Regions from separate parts of the Homo sapiens genome. Here region 2 is linked to region 1. The links are contacts of gene promoters, found by promoter capture Hi-C in blood cells and fetal thymus (Javierre and others, 2016). All regions are on one chromosome and are shown on one strand. The core of a region is centred on a gene start or on the middle of the fragment in contact, and the rest is flanking DNA. Distances in the headings are between cores, read along the strand shown. Region 1 holds the start of PLAG1 (PLAG1 zinc finger). Region 2 has its middle 37 kb from the start of MRPL15.

Region 1 (3,772 bases), core at 873-3,372:
AAGAGACACCCAGCCCAGTTCTACTATGGGAAAGATCAGGACGTCCAGGCCAAAGGAGACCAGCCTTTGCAAAAAAAAGAATGGAAAAGGGTTTGGTTATTCTGGTGTCCATTAAGTAATCACTGAATAATAATTTTATGATTTTCATTGAACAATACAAGAAAATAACCAGCCAACAGTAACATCTTGGCAAAAAAGAAATCAAGATGCTGTTCAATTATATCTACAAGCTTCTTCCTCTCCTGAAGACAATTTTTTTCCACACTTCCCTTCTTCCTAAGAGAGATGATGATAGTAAATAAATTCACAGCTTTCTTTTTTACACCTATCCTATGATGTGAGAACACAGAACTCTTCATACACCTTAGATTTAATAATCTCAACAAGGATCAGACAACCTTGCATTAAATTTAAGTTTCGTGCCTTACATGAAAGTATCCTACTCTATATTTTATTGTCAGTCAGAAATTCTTCAAAAATAATACCTAGGTAACATCACATATACCCAGTTCGAGTTTGGTGCATGAGTTTCTTCACATTTCATTTCCTTTTCCTTCCGGATTCTAAATACAAGGCACTCTAAGTTTGGATTTCCGAAAGTCCCCTCCTTTGCATGAGTTCCTCGTGTATTAACTGGAATTGAAGAGGAAATGTCAATTTACAGTGAGGAGCGGGGCTGAATTACAACATCGAGTGCTCCGCTAAAGGGGCCTTGTCTATTACTTTTTGAATGTACTAAATAAATGTTACAAGGCTCTACTACTTGCAGAGCATAACCAGAAAGAAAAACCAAGCAAAGATATGAAGGAGGGGCCACAAAACCATAGCACATTCAGGGGATAACTCTAAAATCCACTCCAAAGGGCAAACTGCTTAATAAAGCAGTTCCTGATTTCCCATCCAGTGGTTCACGTCCCCCCTCTCTAAGTAGCTTTGAAAGGGCAGGGGGAAGGAAACGTTTCTGAACACGTTCATGCCCACACGCCCCGTGGTCGGAGCCCAGGCAGGGTCCGCGGCTCTGCTAAACCCGGAAGCTGCACACGCCGTGCCGTTAACCCACTGCCAGGTGCAAAGTGGAAGGGGGCAAGAAGTCAAGGGTGGCCTGCCGGAGGTGGGCGCGCAGGGCAAGGAGAAACGAAGGGCGAACCCGAGGCCTCGCCGCCTTCCGCGGTGTAGCCCGTCAGCATCTGATCCTGGACGGCGCGCACAGGTGAACACACCTTGCTGTGCCGAGACCATGCCGAGAGAGACAAGGGGCGAGGAAAACGCAGGGAACTGGGGGTGGGGCCGGTAACTGCGCTTCAGAGGCTACACAGGAGAGTGGAAGAAGAGCTGGGGTTGCCCGGACTAGGCAGAGGTCATCTTCCTCGCCCCCGGAGCGAACAGACCCGTGTGGCGGGAGGAAGAGCAACGGGAAGAGGTCCGCGCTGCGGCGAAGCCTGGCGGGAGCGCCTCCGCGCCGCAGAAGTGCATTCGGGCCCCGCTACGGCCCAAGGGCACCCCTCTCTCCCCGCTTTTCTGCGGCCGCTTCGGAGGTAGGGCGGGGGAACCACTCACCTCCGGCCTCCGCTTCGCCAGCACCCAGGCCGTCTCCAGCTCCAAACACGTCAATGGCTCACGCAGCAGGACCTTAAGTAGCGCGCATCCCAACTTGCTGCCCCCGCTCCCCGGCGGCAGCCCGCCCAATCGGCGCGCGCCGCCGCCAGACTGACAGCCGCGCGGGGCCCTGGGCCGCAGGGGCGGTCGGGCCTCGCCCCGCCCCCGCCTGGCGAAAGGAGGGCCGAGGCGGGAGGAGTGGGCGGGGCGGTGAGCGCGACCCCGCCCCCTCTTCCCCCGCCCCACCGCGCCCCCCAGCCGCGGCCCGTCTCTTAACACTTCGGCTTGACGGGCGGCGTCGCGGCCCAATGGGCGGGCCAACTCCCGCCAGCGGCGGCTCCGAGTGGCCAGCTCTCGGGCGGAGCGCGCGCGGGGGGCGGGCGCAGCGGCGGGCGGGGTTTGGGGGCGGGCCGACGGGAGGCGGGGGCGGTGGCCGAACAGGCAGGGGGAGGCAGCGGTGGGCGCGACGTCGGCGGCGGCGGCGGCGGCGGCGGCGGCAGCTGCAAGTTGGGCTGCAGGGGCAGCGCATACACTACAATGGCTGCTGGAAAGAGGCGTAAGGAAACAATTTCCAGGCCCGCCGCGTCCAGCCCGAAATATGAGAAAAAAATTATTAGAAATTCCGCGGGCGGTGTAGAGGCGGCGGACGGGCCGGAGGGAGGATGTTAAAGCCCCGCGGTGAGTTCTCCGGGGGTCCGGGGCGGCGGCGAGGCGTTTAGCGGGAGAAATATCAGGGTTATTTAAATTATGGGACTAGCCGAGGGGGCAGAGGAGCAGCGGCGGCGGCAGGAGGAGGAAAAGTTTGTGCTACTCTCAGCCCCTGCTCAGGACCCCAGAGAGAAAAATAATAATAAAAAATAAAATAAAATAATTACGCGGGGCTGCGAGGACTCCCGAAGTCGCTTCTGACAGGGCAGGGGGCGATGCGGCTGGGGACCCGAAGGTGAGGTCGGTGGGAAAAAAAAAAAAACCTTTATTCAGGGTCTGGAAAGTTTGAAAAGTTTTCCTCCTCCTCCTCCTCCTCCTCCTCTCTGGTGCTGTGAATATTGTGACAGCGGCAGCGGCAGCAGCGAGAGCGGAAGACATTAGAGACCCGAAAAATAAGGGAAAAATTAATATAAATTCAGTTTTGAGAGTAAACTCTCCGCATTTTCCACCAAAACATCCCGGGGGAAGGTCGCTTCCCAAAGGGCCTGGCGGAAACCCGCAGTCGGCAATATTTGGGGGGCACTTTGAGTGACTTGGGGTAACTTTGCCCCTTTTTCAAAAGAGGTTTTTCTTTTCTGGAGAAATGAATTTGTTTTTGCCCTTTCCTCAGGTGGGCAAGCCGGGGTCGGGGTGCGGGGTCTGCAGGGAGGTGTGAGCCCGGGGTGTGTGGCTGCGAGGGGGGGTAGGGGGAGGGGGTGCTAAATGAAAGCAGGAGATCGGCACAGAGCAGGGACAGCTTGTTGTCAGTATCATAAACAACCAAAATGGAGGGAGAACTCAGGCATATAACCAAATAAAAATTTTTAAAAAATCGCAAAAAATCCCTAAAAATCCGGGATGCTCCCCCTTTTCTCGCTAAAGGTAAAAGTATGTACCGCCTTTCCCCTGAAGTCCATTTTGACTTTGCAGGGACCAAGGAGTTAATATTTATTTATTTTTTAAAACTTTCGAAGGGCAAAAGCCTTTTATAACTCAACCGACAATGAGAAAACGTGAAAATCCGATGCAAGAGAAGCAGGGGGAGCGAGGGGGGAGGTGGTAGTGCAGAAACTGCTAAACTTATTGGTAATGTGGACTGATCTCAGATAAGATAAACACTATATTTGCTATTTTATAACTCTCTTTTAATGATCTTTGCGGGGTTTTTTTGGGTGGAAAAAAAAGTGATGCCATTTTCTTAATAGAGTTAATATGTGTGATTGGAAGAATGAACCTTTCCGGCTTTAGATTGCATTTTCGTCGCATTTATGCTTCAGGTTTTGTTAGTGGCTCCCTCCTTTCTTTAAACTGGGCTCTGCAGAGGAGGGATAGAGAGGTGATGGTGCTCAGAGAGGCTGGAGTGCAAGGCTGGAGTACCTTTTGGGGAGGGATGTGGAGTTGCTTGGTTTCCCCCTTCCTGACATGTTTGCTTCACCTGTTCATCCTTCCTAAAGAATGTTAAGCTGAGGTTTTCTGGTTTTATGTGTAT
Region 2 (3,772 bases), core at 812-3,311, 2.0 Mb after region 1:
ACTTTGGGAGGCCGAGGCAGGCAGATCACTTGAAGTCAGAAGTTCAAGACCAGCCTGGCCAACTTGGTGAAACCCCCGTCTCTACTAAAAATACAAAAAGTAGCTGGGTGTGGTAGTGCACACCTGTAATCCCAGCTACTCAAGAGGCTGAGGTAGGAAGATCACCTGAGCCCAGGAGGTTGAGGCTGCAGTGAGCCGAGATCATACCACTGCACTCCAGCCTGGACAACAGAGCAAGACTCTATCTTAAAAAAAAAAAAAAAAAAAAAAAAAGGAAGAAAAACAAAAAAGCCTTAATTAGACTTTATTTAGATACAGGTTTTCATCATGTCATTCTTATACACACACACACAAAGGAGCATATAATTTTTAAAACCAGTTAGGATAGTTCTAGATCTTTTTCAATTCAGAGTCCAAGTATCAAAGGGCGAGAACCGTGTATTAGGTGTCAAGGTCAGAAGCAGAATCCAGCATTCCAAATTCTACCACCTGCGGCCTGTTCATTGTGGTCCATGAGTTTCCACTCAAAGGTCTTTGCTCTGTGCCATCAGGACACCGGCAGCATTTTCTCCTGGACCTTCATCAAGCCTCAGACACCTCTTTTGCAAGTTTTGGTGTGCTGTTTTCTTGACCTTACCTGGGGTGTCAAGAAGCTTTCAGAACACAGCCACAGTCCCTTCCAAATGATCCTTCTGGGGTTGTTGTCTGAAACAGCGGAGACTGGCATCCTTTTATGCCAACAAGAAGACAACTAAGTGTGTGCATCATGGACAAGGATGACCATGGGGCTGACGGCCATCTGATCACCTAGGAGGATCACAAGATGCTCACTGGGGCTGAGCCCCATCTCAGCACCGACCACAGACAGGCATTCCTACCAGCCCCAGGAAGAGGGCTGCGAGGGGTGAGTTAATTTACATAAAGAACTTAGACCTAGGCCTGGCACACAGAAAGCACTCAATAAATGTCAGTTATGTGTGTGTGTTTGAAGAAATACTGTAGTAAATTATTAGTGTTTTATAAAGTTGAGATTTTCGTTTTGTTTTGTAGATTGAGCAGGGCTTATGCATACCTGCAAGATAAGGAAAATGAGCTCAACTACTACACCATTTACATGCTTTCAAAAGTATTTTATAATTTGGGGAGGGCTATGAGGGAGAGGAATAGATAAGCAAAATAATCTTTCTTTAGTTTTGCCAGACAGCCAGGCTGTCCTGTTGATGAAAATGAAATGTACATAACCACATAGCTAGGATTCAGACCAGCTCAAAGAAGTCACAGCACACAGAGATATTCCTTATGGTTCAGCGCAATTGTCTAAATAAACTTTGCGGCCATGCGCGGTGGCTCACGCCTGTAATCCCAGCACTTTGGGAGGCCGAGGCAGGTGGATCACCTGAGGTCAGGAGTTTGAGACCAGCCTGGTTAACATGGTGTAACCCTATCTCTACTAAAAATACAAAAATTAGCCAAGCATGGTGGTGGGCACCTGGAATCCCAGCTACTTGGGTGGCTGAGGCGGGAGAATCACTTGAACCTGGGAGGCAGAGGTTGCAGTGAGCGGAGATCACGCCATTGCACTCCAACCTGGGCAACAAGAGCGAAACTGTATCAAAAATAAATAAATAAATAAATAACTTTTTCCCCAATTTTCTCCACTTCCAATGATTTAAATGTATCTCAGTTATCATGTAGTGTACTTAGGAACTAAAAACAGCCTTGTTGGTTTTCTTTGTGTTATGATTTGGAACACTGGATTCTGCTTCTGACCTTGACACCCAATACACAGTCCTCGCCCTGCAAGAGTTCATTTAGAGATGGAAAAGATTCTCCCCATGGAGGAGCTGTCAGAATAGGGAGTGGGAACAAAGACCAGGACACCCTCTCCCAGTTCCTGCTGCATGAGTAATCAGAAGCCACAGAAGGCAGTGTGGCTCAGCTGGCCCAGGCTGGTGCTCTGCTCAACTGGAAAAGCCTTTATTTCACAATCCTTTTTGAGTAATAGAAAATATTTTAACCCTTAAACACCATCACTCCTTTATCCATGCATTTATTTTCAGTGTAATTTGGTATTTCTAAGACTATTTGAAATCCGGATTTGGCAACTCACTGGCTACAGGGATCAAAGTTCTGCTCTCTTTGGGTTTACCTATAAAATGAGAATAAATAACTGGGTGCAGTGGCACATGCCTATAATCCCAGCTACTCAGAAAGCTAAGGCAGGATTGCTTGAGCACAGAAGTTCAAGACCAGCCTGGGCAACATAGCAAGACCCCGTCTCAATTTTAAAAGAAAAGAAAATACTGTTGCATCACGAGGGAAAAAAAAGAAAAAAAAAAGTTATCTCTTGAGCTGCCAATGTCTGTGACTGATTTCCAATTAGAATCAACTAAAATGGCCAGGCACGGTGGCTCACACCTGTAATCCCAGCACTTTGGGAGGCCGAGCAGGGCAGATCACTTGAGTTCAGAGTTCAAGACCAGCCTGGCCAACATGGTGAAACCCCGTCTCTAATAAAAATACAAAAATTAGCCTGGTGTGGTGGCACGTGCCTGTAATCCCAGCTACTCGAGAGGCTGAGGCAGGAGAATCACTTGAATCCAGGAGGCAGAGGTTGCAGTGAGCGAGATCGCGCCATTGCTCTCCAGCCTGGGCAACAGAGTGAGACTCCATCTCAAAATAATAATAATAATAATAATTAACTAAAATGAGAATGAATAGCATAGACCCAGGCGGCAGGTGCACAGGGAGCAGCAGTAGTTTGGGGCACTTGCCAACTCTCCCCATTTGCAGGCCATTTTGTCAGGCTTCCAACCTTAGAAAACAATTGTTAGCTTAGAACATGGTTTTGGGCCAAAATATAAGGACTTTTTACTTTGACAAACACTGTAAAGTTGCCCTCAAAAAGGATATGCCAAGTATAGTCCCAACGATGGTGTAAGAGGGTACCCAGTTCCACATATTCTCGCTGACACTGGATTCTGCAATTATGATTTCATTCTTGGTAAGGTTGTGCAGACTCCGTATGCTTATGGACTACTTTTTCAGATTTCTCATTTCCCTGTTGGGGTGTTTCATCCATCCACAGTCTTTGCACCTTACAGCAGTAACCTAACAGGTGGACATCCACTCAGACTGAAGAGGACCATGAGCACATAAGCTGGTGCAGTGGAAAAAAAGGGAACTCCAATTCCCAAGGTCATTAGGCCCAACACAAGCTGGGACCCTCTCCCAGAAGCCTGCTCTCAAAACCTTCAGGCAGAGGGGATAAAAGTGCTTCAAGGAACGCTTACTGTGTTTCGCCCTTCATGAAAAGAGTCAGTGGGCTGTCACTGTGTGGAGACAAAGCCAGGAGGGTGAGGCCTGTGGCGATTTGGTGCAGCCCAGAAGTGCAGGGCGAGCAGCTGCGGCCAGTTCTCCCTCCTGTCACTTAGCCTCTCGCCTTGGAGTTCCCGTAGCTGTAAGCTTGAAGTCTCAATTTATAGATTTCTTTGTTTATTCTAAAGTAAAGAAGCAGGAAGTTCATTTTTACCATGACCTTGACTAGATGTCTTTGATGATCATGTTTAATGGGTTAAAAATTCAACATCGTTTATTTATGTCATTATAACATGACGCCATCCTTGTTGTTATATTTTTCACATTTCTTTAGTGAGCGTACTTCCTGAAATAAAGTATACACACACACACACACACACACATCATGTCCATAGATTAAAGCAAAAGTTTTTCAACTTAATTTACTTAGTTTTATTGCAGCTGCATCACAATC

Evidence for each region. The method cuts DNA at HindIII sites, captures the fragments that hold promoters and counts their contacts. A CHiCAGO score of 5 or more calls a contact.
Region 2: a contact is called between a fragment that was not itself captured here and the fragment with the promoter of PLAG1 in region 1, in 1 of 17 cell types (total CD4 T cells). The highest score is 7.0, in total CD4 T cells.

Annotation. Positions count from the first base shown.
Region 1 is chr8:56,209,623-56,213,394 of GRCh38, reverse strand. It overlaps PLAG1 (PLAG1 zinc finger), which reads left to right and starts at 2,122. Exons shown (of 5, transcript NM_002655.3): 1 at 2,122-2,274. CHCHD7 (coiled-coil-helix-coiled-coil-helix domain containing 7) reads right to left here and starts at 1,606. Exons shown (of 4, transcript NM_001011671.3): 1 at 1,558-1,606. RefSeq lists an enhancer at 1,428-1,497 and silencers at 1,510-1,735, 1,578-2,137. The HindIII fragment of the contact is 9,849 bases long and covers 233-3,772 here.
Region 2 is chr8:54,170,064-54,173,835 of GRCh38, reverse strand. No RefSeq gene overlaps it. Among named protein-coding and RNA genes, the nearest start is that of MRPL15, 37 kb to the right of the region's middle. The HindIII fragment of the contact is 2,812 bases long and covers 656-3,467 here.